Regions from separate parts of the Homo sapiens genome. Here all the other regions are linked to region 2. Evidence: promoter capture Hi-C in 16 types of primary human blood cells and fetal thymus (Javierre and others, 2016). All regions are on one chromosome and are shown on one strand. Each heading gives the region's core, a stretch centred on a gene start or on the middle of the fragment in contact. The rest is flanking DNA. Distances are from core to core; before and after follow the strand shown. Region 1 overlaps BAZ2B (bromodomain adjacent to zinc finger domain 2B). Region 2 holds the start of CD302 (CD302 molecule). Region 3 overlaps BAZ2B (bromodomain adjacent to zinc finger domain 2B).

Region 1 (3,997 bases), core at 945-3,444, 290 kb after region 2:
CAGATAGATAGGCCAGGCGTTGTGGCTCACATCTGTGATCACAACACTTTGGGAGGCCAAGGCGGGTAGATTGCTTGAGGCCAGGAGTTCGAGACCAGCCTGGCCAACATGACGAAACCCCATCTCTGCTAAAAATACAAAAATTAGCTGGGCATGGTGGCGCATGACTGTAATCCCAGCTAATCGGGAAACTGAGGCACAAGAATCACTTGAACCGGGAGGTGGAGGTTGTGGCAAGCTGAGATCATGCCACTTGCACTCCAGCCTGGGCGACAGAGGGAGACTCTAAATAAATAAATAAGTAACTTACGTAGTGCTGTTATTTTTATTTCAAAACGTCTCTACCTCCATTTTGAAACAACATGATCTCTTTTGAACCTCCGTTTTTAAAACGTTTAAGTTCCTTCTTTTTAAAAGTAATCATACCTTTAGTATAACTCTTACCCACTTTGTCCCTTCTCATTTTCTTATTTTAAAGTTTTTTGGTTATTCAATTTAGATTACTTCTCATGGTAGGAAGATTATAATGAATCCTAGATCTAATTTGATTCCTAATGTTTTAGTGCATTGATTGAAAAATACATCAAATTTTCCGAAGTCATATTAATCCCTTATACACAAGCAGACACACATTCAAAAACCCTTAATACCTTAGAACTTTCTGGACCTCTAGTATATGTGAAATTCAAATGAAATTTTTTTAGGGAGACCACTGCTTTTCTCTTCAAAGAAACACCTTTCCAACTCTTAGTTTTCACCCAAAACTTGGAATTAATATTCTTTCTAGATATAATTGTTTAGATTTTTTTTTTAACCTCCTCACTGTCGTAGTTGTTTGAAGCCTAACTTTCATTACTAAATCAGCTGTTGATCTGTTGCCTAATAAACTTTTTCTGGAGCCTATTTCTTCAAGTTTTGTACTTCTCTTTAATGTATCAGGCTATATTTTACACAGGAAACCTCAAGTTTTTTGTTCTCAAAACCATTTAGCTCTTCTTTGCAGCCACCTAATCTCTCTTTGACGACCATCTAAGCATTTTTCAGAAGGCCTTGATTTGTAATTATACCAGACTTTATTTTGGGGCCCCATGAATCTAAAACTTTTATAATTATAGTTTAGATAACTTAGTAGAAGTACCATTACTTTTATGTTGACCTGCTCCACAAAGTATTGCACCTGACACTGAACAAGAGATTTGTGTGTGAGTAATGGATTATTCATCAGTCCCACCAGTAGTGCCAGTTTTCAGACTCTGACCTCTTTGGATAGTTTATCTTGCTTGTTAGATTCTCTTGCTTGAATTACTCTTTCTCTTTTCCTTTTTCTTATCCTCCTTTCACTCTAGGACACAAATTACTGAGGGTGGAAAAGAACTCAGTACTCTCTATTATTTGTTTGTGATCCCAAAAGGAAAGTTTTCAGGGTTAAAAACTGAGAGGAGAAAAGACATTGTGGTAATGGTGTTTCCCTTGTTGGTCCTGTATTCTTATAGATAACACAGTTTCTGAAACGCAGGCTTTCTTTTTTAAGCTTTTCTAAGCTGTGCCTGAAGTATTCATAGTAATCTTCCTGAAAGTTTGGAGTTTTTCTGGACTGGGCCGATCTGGTTCTTTGCGGAGTTACTGCCCAAGTACCAGGAGATATTCCTCCATCTAAGCAGCTAATAGAAGTCTACATCAACCCTTTCTGGAAGCTTTTCTATTTCCTAATAAGTATCTGTATGTTCAAATCTGCTTGTTAATCATTCCTTAGACATGATGTTGAAATGGAACTTTGTGGATATTCATTTATCCTAGTGTAATACAGCATATTACAGCTCAGATCTCCTGGATAGCTGGGTCAGTAGGTTCCATTGCTAGGTCCAGTTTCCCTCCTGTCATCCTGGCTCGCTCTGGATATAGGTGAGGTAGAGCCTCAAGAAGCAATAGACCATGGTAAGGATTACCTAGCAAGGGATTCATGGGTAGAGAGCCTTACCCAGGTAGTCACATGTCCTTGTAGAAATTTTTTCGGAGGGGTGGAGGTCCTGCTACCACCTTTCCATATGCCTACTCTAGTTATAGTAAACTTGCCAGCCAGCCCTTGTAAGAGATTTTTGGGAGGGGCAGAAGACTCTTGGAAAGGAGAGATCCGTTTCAGATTCTCTGTCATTGTTGACAGGAGGATAGCTGGGAGTTCTCACAACTGTCCTTGTTACCTCTCATCCTGAGTGCTCATCTGGACACCGGGTAGATAGTTTATAATGTATTATACGCTTAGCTTGCCAATGTGTAACTATTCAGAGCCTCAGTTAGCAGTAAAGCCAATTATTTTTCAAGTCTTTCATTGTCAGTTTCAGGTTTTAGAAGCTGCCTTATACACATACCTGCTGTTACTTGTATGAATTGTTCTCCTTTTATTTTCCTACTTGGCTTTTGGGGCTTAAGATGATGATGAATTCTATATTCTTGCCGCCTTCTTATGGGACCTTTTCATCCAAGCTATCTGTATATTTTTCCCATTCTTTATATTAGCAGATATTTTCCCATTCCCTTATATTAGCAGATATTTTCTTTCTTTTTAAATTTTTGTTTGTTTTAGTGAGTCTTATAGCATCTTTAATATTAAGTACTGGGCCAACAAGACAGTGAATGTTAGTTATTATTTTCATTTGAACTTCAAAATTGACATAATCTGGCAATAGTGAAGCTTATAAAAGCTCTATGGCAGTGATTCTTAACCTTGGAATCTTCTGGAGGGCTTCCCAACCTGTTAATGCTTACATCCCCACCCCCAGAGATTCTGATATAATTGATCTGGAGATGGGCCTTGTCACAGATTTATATATATTTGAGATCCCCCATGTGTTTCTAATATGCAGCCAGGCTTGTGAATCATTACATTAAAGGAATTGTATGGTAAACTTGTTTATGAAGTAAAAAATTCATTTTACACTCAGAAAATACTTGAAAAACTACGAGATGACACTCTGCTGGAATTCTCTTCTATGAAATTACATATACTTCTTTGCTTCACTGTTTTCTAAATTAAGATTTTTATTGGTCAAGTTTTCTCTAAGTATATGACTACCTCCATTTACAATGAGCTTATTACTTTTATTTGAAGATATTGCATAAGTCATTTTCATAATATTATTCTTTGTCCATCAAGATTAAAATCAGTTGAGCATGATTATATAATAAATATGTAGCTTTATAAATTAAGTTCTATCATCTAAGGCAGATTGTGAAAGATAATTGCTCTCTGCACCTTTGTTTAAAATATAGCTTATATATACAGATTGAACTAGAGAACCAAATAAGTTCATGTAGAACTTTGATAGCTAAAGGAATGTTCTGGACTTGTGTTTTTATGTATTTGTATATAGTATTGCATATTTATATAAAAATTATCTTACGGTTTAAGCTGAGTAGAACCCTATTTGCCTTTTATGAGATTCCAATATATGTCTTAAGAGAGAAGGATGTTCAATATGGGACTGATAAACCAAATGTGACTGGATTAATCCCAAGGTATTGATGTGTTTTTAGTAAAATAAAATTAGCTTACACAAATAAACTAGTGGTGCCTAACTCCCTGCCTTTAGTGAATTTGAGAAGTTTGATATAAATATGGAAAAGCAGAGTTTATTGGCACAAATAGATTTCTTGGTTGGCAAGTTAAATTTTAAGGTTCAATCTGGACAGAGTGCTATGTGCCTGTAGTCTCAACTACGCAGGAAGCTGAGGCAGGAGGATTGCTTGAGGCCAGGAGTTAGAGGCTAAAGTGCACTAGGGTCTGCCTGTGAATATCCACTGCACTTGGGCCTGGGCAACATGGTAAGACCCTCATCTCTTAAAAAAAATTTTTAAGGTTTCAACACTTTATTAAAATTAAGAGGCCATTGGGAGATATACCTAATGCTAGATGACGAGTTAGTGGGTGCAGCACACCAGCATGGCACATGTATACATATGTAACTAACCTGCACATTGTGCACATGTACCCTAAAACTTA
Region 2 (4,413 bases), core at 1,512-4,011:
ACCCACATACAGGCAATAAGTAGTCTATTTCATCAGATTAGCATCAAAAATGAGGCAGTGTGCACCAGAGTTAACAATAAAATAATATAATTTTCTTTAGTACAAATGACTTAAAATGACAGTGTTAAAATGGGTTTTGCCTTAATTAGATTGATTCATTAGGATGTCAATTCTATTGTAAATATAAAAATATTTGAAAAGTAGCTTAACACAAAACCACATTGATAAAATATACTTTGGTGCCTGAGGTGGGGGTGGAAGAGATAACTTTCACAATTACATGATTGCTTAGAACTGTTCATTTTACTTCTGTAGTTAGGAGGGCAAAAGGGTCCAGAATCAAGATGTGTCAATATTCCAATATAGAGTATCTTTGGAAGGATTTGCTCTGGTCTGGAGTTTGGTATATAATAAACTCAGTATTGGCAGCCTGAGAAGAAAAATGGAAGTAAATAAGTTAAGCAAGACCTTAATACTTTGGCAAAGGGGCAGAACCTGGAATAGGTGGGAGAGTCCAGCAGAGGAGCTGGGCTCTGGTTCATTTGTTGGCATTCTCTGTGAGCCCACGGGGGAATCACATCCCTTCTTTGGGTCACTCAATTTCCTTACTAGTACCACTTCTAACACTCTATGACTCTCCTTATAGACCCCTTGGGTCAAATTTCCTTGGTGTAACCACTCTGGATTATCAGAAGTGTGGAAAGGGTTAGAAAGAGTTGGAAAGGGTCAGATTTTATTTTTTTAAAAATAGACTAATTTTTGAGCAGTTTTAGATGTATACAAAAAATGTAGCAGAAGGTACAGAGCTCCCATGTACCTCCTTACACATACCCCAGTTTCCCCAATTATTAACATCTTGCATTAGCAGGTACATTTGTTACAGTGGATGAGCCAATATTGACACATTATTAACTAAAGTCCATTGTCCACACTAGGGTTCATCTTCGTTTTGTGCATTCTATGGGTTTTGACACATGTATAGTGATACACATCTACCATTACAGTATCCTACAGAATAATTTCATGGCTCTAAAAATCCTCTGTGTTCCATCTATTCATCCCCTCCTTCTTCCCACCCCAACCCCTGGCAACCATTTATCTTTTTACTGTCTCCATAGTTTTGCCTTGTCTAAAATGTCATATAGTTGGAATCATATAGTATGCAGTCTTTTCAGATTGGCTTCTTTCTCTTAGCAATACATATTTAAAGTTCTTCCATGTCTTTTTGTGGCTTGATAGCTCATTTAATTTTGGTACTGAGTAACATTTCATTGTTTGGATGTGCCATTGTTTATCCATTCACTTATTGAAGGACATCTTGTTTGCCTCTAGGTTCTGGCAATTATGAATAAAGCTGCTATCAACATTCATGTGCAGGTTTTTGTGTGTATGTAAGTTTTTAACTCATTTGGATAAATACCAAGGAGTTGTGATTGCTAGATGGTATGGTAAGAGTACGTTTAGTTTTGGAAGAAGCTTCCAAATTGTCTTCCAAAGTGGCTGTACCATTTTGCATTTGCACCAGCATTGAATGAGAGTTCTTTTTGCTCCACATCTTTGCCAGCATGTGGTCTTGTCAGTGTTTTTGGATTCTGGTATCTAATAGGTATGTAGTGGTATTTCATTTTTGTTTTCATATACAATTCAGCAATGACATATGATGTTGAGCATCTTTTCATCTATTTGCCATTATATAACTTCTTTGATGACGTGTGTATTCAGATCATCTGACCATTTTTTTTAACTGGGTCATTTGTTTTCACGTTGTTGAGTTTAGACTTGATTTTATAGAACTCTTTTGCCAATGACATGAGGCTTAAACAAGCACCCTTGCTTGACCCTGGCTAGTGTTGTCCAGAGGCCCTCATGGGTGAAGTATAATTGCACAGTTTATGCATACATTGTAGCAAACATAGCTTAAAGACTCTTCATCCAGGAGCTGGTAACAGAGAAAAGTTGTCTAAGAGACATAGTCCACTGAAAGGGGTCTTTGAAAAGGAGGATTCTGGCCAGTAGATCCAAAGAAGAAGGCTGGCAAACGCCACCTTAACCAACTGATCCAAGTTAACATCAGTGATGAGACATCGACATCTTGTCCTTCTCGAGCACGTACATCACTTCTGGGGAACTCTTTCCCAAAAAAGCGCAACCTGAATCCAATTAGAAGGAAATGTCAGACAAAATGAAACTGAGGGACATTCTACAAAACGACTGGCCAGTACTTTTTAAATGTGGTTTGATCGTGAAAGAAAAAGAATGACAGAGAACCGTCCTAGATTAAAGGGAGACTAAGGAGACACGACATGCAATGTATGATCCTGGATTGAATCTTGGAACAGAAAAGGACCCTTAGAGGGGCAATTAATGAAATGTGGTAAGTGCTGTAGATTAGCTAATCGCATTATCCCAGTGCGAGTGCCCTGTGTTTGATCACTGCACTGGCGTTATATACAATGTCAATATTTAGAGAAGCTGGCTGAAGGGTTACGGAAATCTCTTGTGCTGTTTTTGCAACATTTTCGAAAGTCCTAAATTATTTCAATTCAAATGAAAAGTTTAAAAAACAAAAATTAGAAGTTCCAGAAGGCCGCGCGCCAGCCGCTCCTGCGGGACGGGACACCCGGGTTCTCCTGGTGGGAGCCCCCAGTGCCGTTCACGTTCCGCCCGGGGGGGGGATTAAACTCGCACGCGAGAAGCACCGCCCCCGCTCCCGCCCCGCCCCGCTCCTCTCCGGCCGCGCAGCCGCTGCCGCCCACCCGCACCCGCCGTCATGCTCCGGGCCGCGCTGCCCGCGCTCCTGCTGCCGTTGCTGGGCCTCGCCGCTGCTGCCGTCGCGGGTAAGCCCTTACGTAGTCCCTCGCCGGGACCGTGCGCGACCGCCTTCGCCCCCTTCCCAACGCACGCTCTTCGTCCCCGCGCACCCGAGGGCGGCCCGCAGACGCAACACCCGGCCGGCCATCCCGCCCTTCCCTGCACGCCCGTCCCCCGTGGGTCCTGGCTCCGGGTCACCTCTCACCCGCCTGCCCTCGGGGAGGGGAGGTGGCCGAGAATAAGGGAGGGCTCTGTCTTCCTCGGAGTCCACATCCTCACCGCAGACCCCACTCCGCGGGGAGGGAACCCCCAAATTAGGCCAGTTGGCCGGAGAACTGAGGGACTTGGAGTCGCACGACGGGCGCCGTTTCAGGGCAATTTCGGGCTGAAATGAGAAGCGGGGACGTTGGTGGCGATTTCCCCTGCTGGTGCGCGGCCGGAGTGGGGTTGCTGGGATGGGGGTGGGGGCCGGAGGAAGTAGGCCCTCTTTTGCAAGCAGCGCTGTTTGTCTAGTTGGTTGGTGTTCAAGTTGTTTAAACAGGAAAACAGTTCAGCCAAATAACCCCTGGATGGAAGAGGAACGGGAATAGGCAAAGCTTGGATTTCACTGAAATCAAGGAGTTTTAAAGTTCTAGTCTGCTGTTGTGCAAGTGACATCTGAAAAATCACACACGTGATCATTCATTTACAAAACGACTCGTGAGGAAAATGCACAATTCTATTGACCGTGGTCTTTATTTTTAAAAAATTTCCATACAAGCATGTCAAAAATATGTGGATGGGGAGACTCTGGAGAACACAGACTTCCAAAAACACCACTGACTGAATAATTCCAGGAATTAAAGAGCAAAATAAACAAGAACTAAATGAGTACTTGTGTGGGCTTAAATAAAGTGCAAGAGATTTAAATAAAATGCAAGAGATTCCCCCCCCCCACCCCTTGCCCCAGATTTCACTGCGTTTTTATAATAACTGCCTGCTCGAAGTCTACTGACAGGAATATTTCAGTGGACCTCAGTGTTGGAGGCAGCAGCAGCTCAGAACTTGGATACAAACCCAAGGTTCCTTTCTTGAAAACTTCTGTGGACCTGCATTTATGACTGGTTGTGACATCTGCTGCCTATCAAAGGGGCAGAAACAAGATGTGCCCATGTTCACATTGTTCAGACTGGGAACATTAATTTTGTCTAAGACAAAGCTGGGCTGTCTCTGAACCCTCCTTCTGCACACCCTCATTTTGCGAGCCAGTAACATCTCAACTCTCATGTAAACCACCCTCTGCGAGGCTGTGCATTTGTACTTTAGGCTAGTCGAATTTTCTTGTCAGATTTTTCTTTCTTGTCAGACTTTTAAAGAAAATCAGTTTCTAGATTTTGGTATGTCTCTTCTTCAGTGAAGCTGTTTTGACCAGCAATAGAGGGCAAATTTCCCTTTGGAAATTTTTGTGCATTTCCTTTGATAAGTCCAGTGTGGATCAATAGGCTTTTCAAGAGCTTTAGAAAAGTGCATGATGAATAAATTAATGTTAATTAATCAGCTCCTCCCAGTCAGGAAGCTTTAAGGATTAATTTGGAAATGAGTGTGAGCTTTGACCTAGCTAGT
Region 3 (4,280 bases), core at 155-2,654, 330 kb after region 2:
AAAGAGGAGCCAGTAACTAATAGTCTACCAACCAAACGAAGCCCAGGACCAGACAGATTCACAGCCGAATTCTACCAGAGGTACAAAGAGGAGCTGGTACCATTCCTTCTGAAACTATTCCAAACAATAGAAAAAGAGGGAATTCTCCCTAACTCATTTTATGAGGCCAGCATCATCCTGATACCAAAACCTGGCAGAGACACGACAAAAAAAGAAAATTACAGGCCAATATCCCTAATGAACATTGATGCAAAAATCCTCAATAAAATACTGACAAATCGAATCCAGCAGCACATCAAAAAGCTTATCCACCACGATCAAGTCAGCTTCATCCCTGGGATGCAAGGCTGGTTCAACATACACAAATCAATAAACGTAATCCATCACATAAACAGAAACAATGACAAAATCCACACGATTATTTCAATAGATGCAGAAAAGGCCTGCGATAATATTCAACACCCCTTCATGCTAAAACCTCTCAATAAACTAGGTATTGATGGAACCTATCTCCAAATAATAAGAGCTATTTATTACAGACCCACAGCCAATATCATACTGAATGGGCTAAAGCTGGAAGCATTCCCTTTGAAAACCGGCACAAGACAAAGATGCCCTCTCTCACCACTCCTATTCAAAATAGTATTGGAAGTTCTGGCCAGGGCCATCAGGCAAGAGAAAGAAAGAAAGGGTATTCCAATAGAGGAAAGAGGAATAGAAAATTTCCAATAGAAAATTTCCAGTAGAAAAGAGGAAATCAAATTGTCTCTGTTTGCAGATGACATGATTGTATATATCATCTCAGCCCAAAATCTCCTTAAGCTGATAAGCATCTTCAGCAAAGTCTCAGGATACAAAATCAATGTGCAAAAATCACAAGCATTTTTATACAGCAATAATAGACAAACAGCCAAATCATGAGTAAATTCCCATTCACAATTGTTACAAAGAAAATAAAATACCTAGGAATACAACTTTCCAAGGGATGTGAAGGACCTCTTCAAGGAGAACTATAACCACTGCTCGAGGAAATAAGAGAGGACACAAACAAATGGAAAAACATTCCATGCTCACTAAAAAGAAGTTGAAACAAATCTTGAATGAACCAATTATCTACCCATTTGAACTCATCTGATTATAGCTCCTCTGCCATATCTCCCCAGCTCTGTATTGTAATAAACTTTTCTGATACATGTGTATGAACTTTATTCCCATTTCAACAGCCCATTTCTTTAAAATCTATTTCAGTAGTGCATCTAGTAGCTTATGTATATTTATTACAAATCTCCTTTGAAATCCTGTTCTATGTAAGAATATAAATTAAGCCAAATAGAATAAATGCTCAACTCAAAGTGATATGGCTCTTAACTTTCACAGACAATAGCAAATATCTATTGGTTTTTTATTAAAGATTATAAAGGACTTTTTCAGTACTTCATTTCTTCTGTACTTTATCATTAGTTCTTCTTTATCTACTGGATCATGTTCATCAGTATAAAAGCATGCTCTTAGTATCACCCATCCTAAAAAAAGCAGTATATACAAAACACCTTCTTTTTAGGGGGAGCCAGGGGGAGACAGAGTCTCACTTTGTCTGGCTGGAGTGCAGTGGTGTGATCACAGCTCACTGCAGTCTCAACCTTTGAGGCTCAGGCAATCCCCCAACCTCAGCCTCCTTAGTAGCTGGGACTACAGGCAAGCACAGCTAATTTTTAAAATTTTTTTTTGTAGAGACTCACTCTGTTGTCCAGACTGGTCTCAAACTCCTGGGCTAAAGCGATCCTCTTGCTTCAGCCTCCCGAAGTGTTGGGATTACAGATGTGAGCCACTGCGCCTGGCCCCCAAACCATTTTTATATCCCAATACTCTTCTGGCTATTGCCCTGTTTTCTGCCAGAATGCTCACAGCCCAACTTCTGAAAGGAGATAGTTACATATGCTTTCTTCTTGTCTTTCACACACATCCCAACTCACAGCAGTGTCATCTTTCTAGCCTCATCTCATTCAACCTCAGCAGAATTTGACATAGCTGACCACTCTCTTCTTCTTGAAAATCTTTCCTTTTAGCTTCCATTATACTACTCATAGTTTTTCTCTAAATTTTTTTATACAACTCCTTCTTAAGTTTTTTTTTTCCCCCAGATTCCTGTACTCATAAATCAAGGCTTGCATTTTCCAAGCCTTGATTCTGAGGCCTGTTATTTCTTGTCTTTTTGTTTAAATACACCTATAGGAAGACTCTGCCCAGACTTTCTCTCTGAGCTCCTGAACATATACATTTTACATAGAGGTTTTATAGACATCTCAAACTTAACAAATTTAACACATCCAAAAAACAAACTTTTGGTTTTCTCCCAAAACCTGTTTCCTTCACATTCTCTATCATTAAATGATACCACAATCATCCAGTAGCTTAAGCCATAAATATAGTGATCTCTGGATTTATCTATTTCTCTTTCACCCTCACATCTAAAGTCTGTTGATTCTACCTTCAAAATAAAGCTTGAGTCTGTACACTTCTTTCTGTCTCTGCTACCACTGCCCTAGTCTGCACTAAAATCTCTCGTCTATATCATTGCAGTTCTTTCTAACTGGCTCTCCACTTCTATGCTTGCCCTGCTTTTATCTGTTCCTCTCAGAACAGAGTGAAGCTGCACATGCAAACCCTCCTACTTTTAGTTTCTTTATTTTGGTGTGATTTATGTACAATATAATTCACCATTTTAAATGTATACTTTAATGAATTTTGACAAATGTATATATTCATGTAACCTCCAGGCTGTAGGACAATTTTATTACTCCAGGAAGTTGCCTTGTATCTTTTTGAAGTTAAATTCCTCCCTCCATCCCTGCCCTGGCAATTACTGAGACAGTTCCCTTCTATTCGTTCTTTGCTGAGAGTCTTTTATTATGAATTGGTATTAAATATTGTCACATGCATTTTCTGCACTTTTTGAAATGATTATATGGCTTTTTCCTTTTAACTTGCTATTTTGGCAAATTACATTGATTAATTTTTTTATAGTTAAGCCAATCTTGCATTTCAAGGATTAATCCCACTTGGTTATGATGGGTTATCCTTTCAGAATAGTGTTGGTCATGCAGAAAGCAAGTATAGAAATAAAGCACTGTTGAATTTGATTTGCTAAAATTTTCTTAAGGAATTTTGCACCTGTATTCATGAGGGTTATTGGTCTATAGTTTTCTTGCAGTTGATTTGTTGGAAATGAGTGGGTAAGATTCCTGCCTCTCTTGTGTTTTTCAAAGAATATATAATGATATTATTTTTTCTCTAAATGTTTGGTAGAATTCACTGGTGAAACATCTGGGCCTGGAGAGTTTTGGTTGTTTGTTTGTTTAAGTTGTTGTTGTTGTTGTAAGATACTAAATCATGAATTCACCTTTTAAAATGTAGGTATAGGCCGGGCATGGTGGCTCATGCCTGTAATCCCAGCACTTTGGGAGGCCGAGGCAGGCAGGTCACTTGAGGTCAGGAGTTCGAGACCTGCCTCGCCAACATGATGAAACCGCGTCTCTACTAAAAATATATATAAAAAATTAGCCAGGCATGGTGGCGGGCACCTGTAATCCCAGCTACCTGAGAGGCTGAGGCAGGGGAATCGCTTGAACCTGGGAGGCAGAGGTTGCATTGAGCCGAGATTGTACCACCGCACTCCAGCCTGGGTGACAGAGCGAGACTCGGTCTCAAAAATAAATAAATAAATAAAATAAGTAAAAAATGTAGGCATAGAACAATTCAGGATATCTTTTTCTCTTTGAATGAGCTTTGGTTGGTGTCTTTCAAGGAATTCGTTCATTTCGTCTACATCATTAAATGTATGGGCCCAAAGTTGTTCCAGATATTGCCTCATTCTTTTAATGTCTGTATGATTGGTAGAGAGATTTTTTCTTTCATCGTTGATATACATAACTTATGTCTTTTCTTTTTAGTGACTAGAGGTTTTTCAACTTTACAGATTTTTTTAAGAACAAGCTTTTGGTTTCATTGAGTTTTCTCAATTTTCTGTTTTTTTTCTCTCATTAATTATTTCCTTCTGTTTTTCTATGGGTATGATTTTCTCTTTTTCCCTACTTTTTTTTTTTTTTTTTTGAGACAGAGTCTTGAACTAACGCCTGGGCTGAGTGCAATGGCTCAATCTCAGCTCACTGCAACCTCTGCCTCCCGTGTTCAAGCAATTCTCCTGCCTCAGCCTCCCAAGTAGATGTGATTACAGGCACCCACCACCACACCTAGCTAATTTTTTTATATTTTTATTTTTA

What was found. The method cuts DNA at HindIII sites, captures the fragments that hold promoters and counts their contacts. A CHiCAGO score of 5 or more calls a contact.
Region 1: a fragment that was not itself captured here is called in contact with the fragment with the promoter of CD302 in region 2 in 1 of 17 cell types (neutrophils); the score reaches 6.5 in neutrophils.
Region 3: a fragment that was not itself captured here is called in contact with the fragment with the promoter of CD302 in region 2 in 1 of 17 cell types (neutrophils); the score reaches 5.2 in neutrophils.

What each region holds. Positions count from the first base shown.
Region 1 is chr2:159,504,184-159,508,180 of GRCh38, reverse strand. All of the region lies in intron 2 of BAZ2B (bromodomain adjacent to zinc finger domain 2B), which reads left to right. Among named protein-coding and RNA genes, the nearest start is that of BAZ2B-AS1, 110 kb to the left of the region's middle. The HindIII fragment of the contact is 995 bases long and covers 1,697-2,691 here.
Region 2 is chr2:159,796,556-159,800,968 of GRCh38, reverse strand. It overlaps CD302 (CD302 molecule), which reads left to right and starts at 2,761. Exons shown (of 6, transcript NM_014880.5): 1 at 2,761-2,837. The coding sequence starts at 2,771. The region is part of intron 33 of LY75-CD302 (LY75-CD302 readthrough); the gene reads left to right. It overlaps LOC124906083 (a long non-coding RNA gene), which reads right to left. Exons shown (of 2, transcript XR_007087273.1): 1 at 3,017-4,413; 2 at 717-2,150. The HindIII fragment of the contact is 1,931 bases long and covers 1,479-3,409 here.
Region 3 is chr2:159,468,880-159,473,159 of GRCh38, reverse strand. All of the region lies in intron 3 of BAZ2B (bromodomain adjacent to zinc finger domain 2B), which reads left to right. Among named protein-coding and RNA genes, the nearest start is that of BAZ2B-AS1, 140 kb to the left of the region's middle. The HindIII fragment of the contact is 2,198 bases long and covers 306-2,503 here.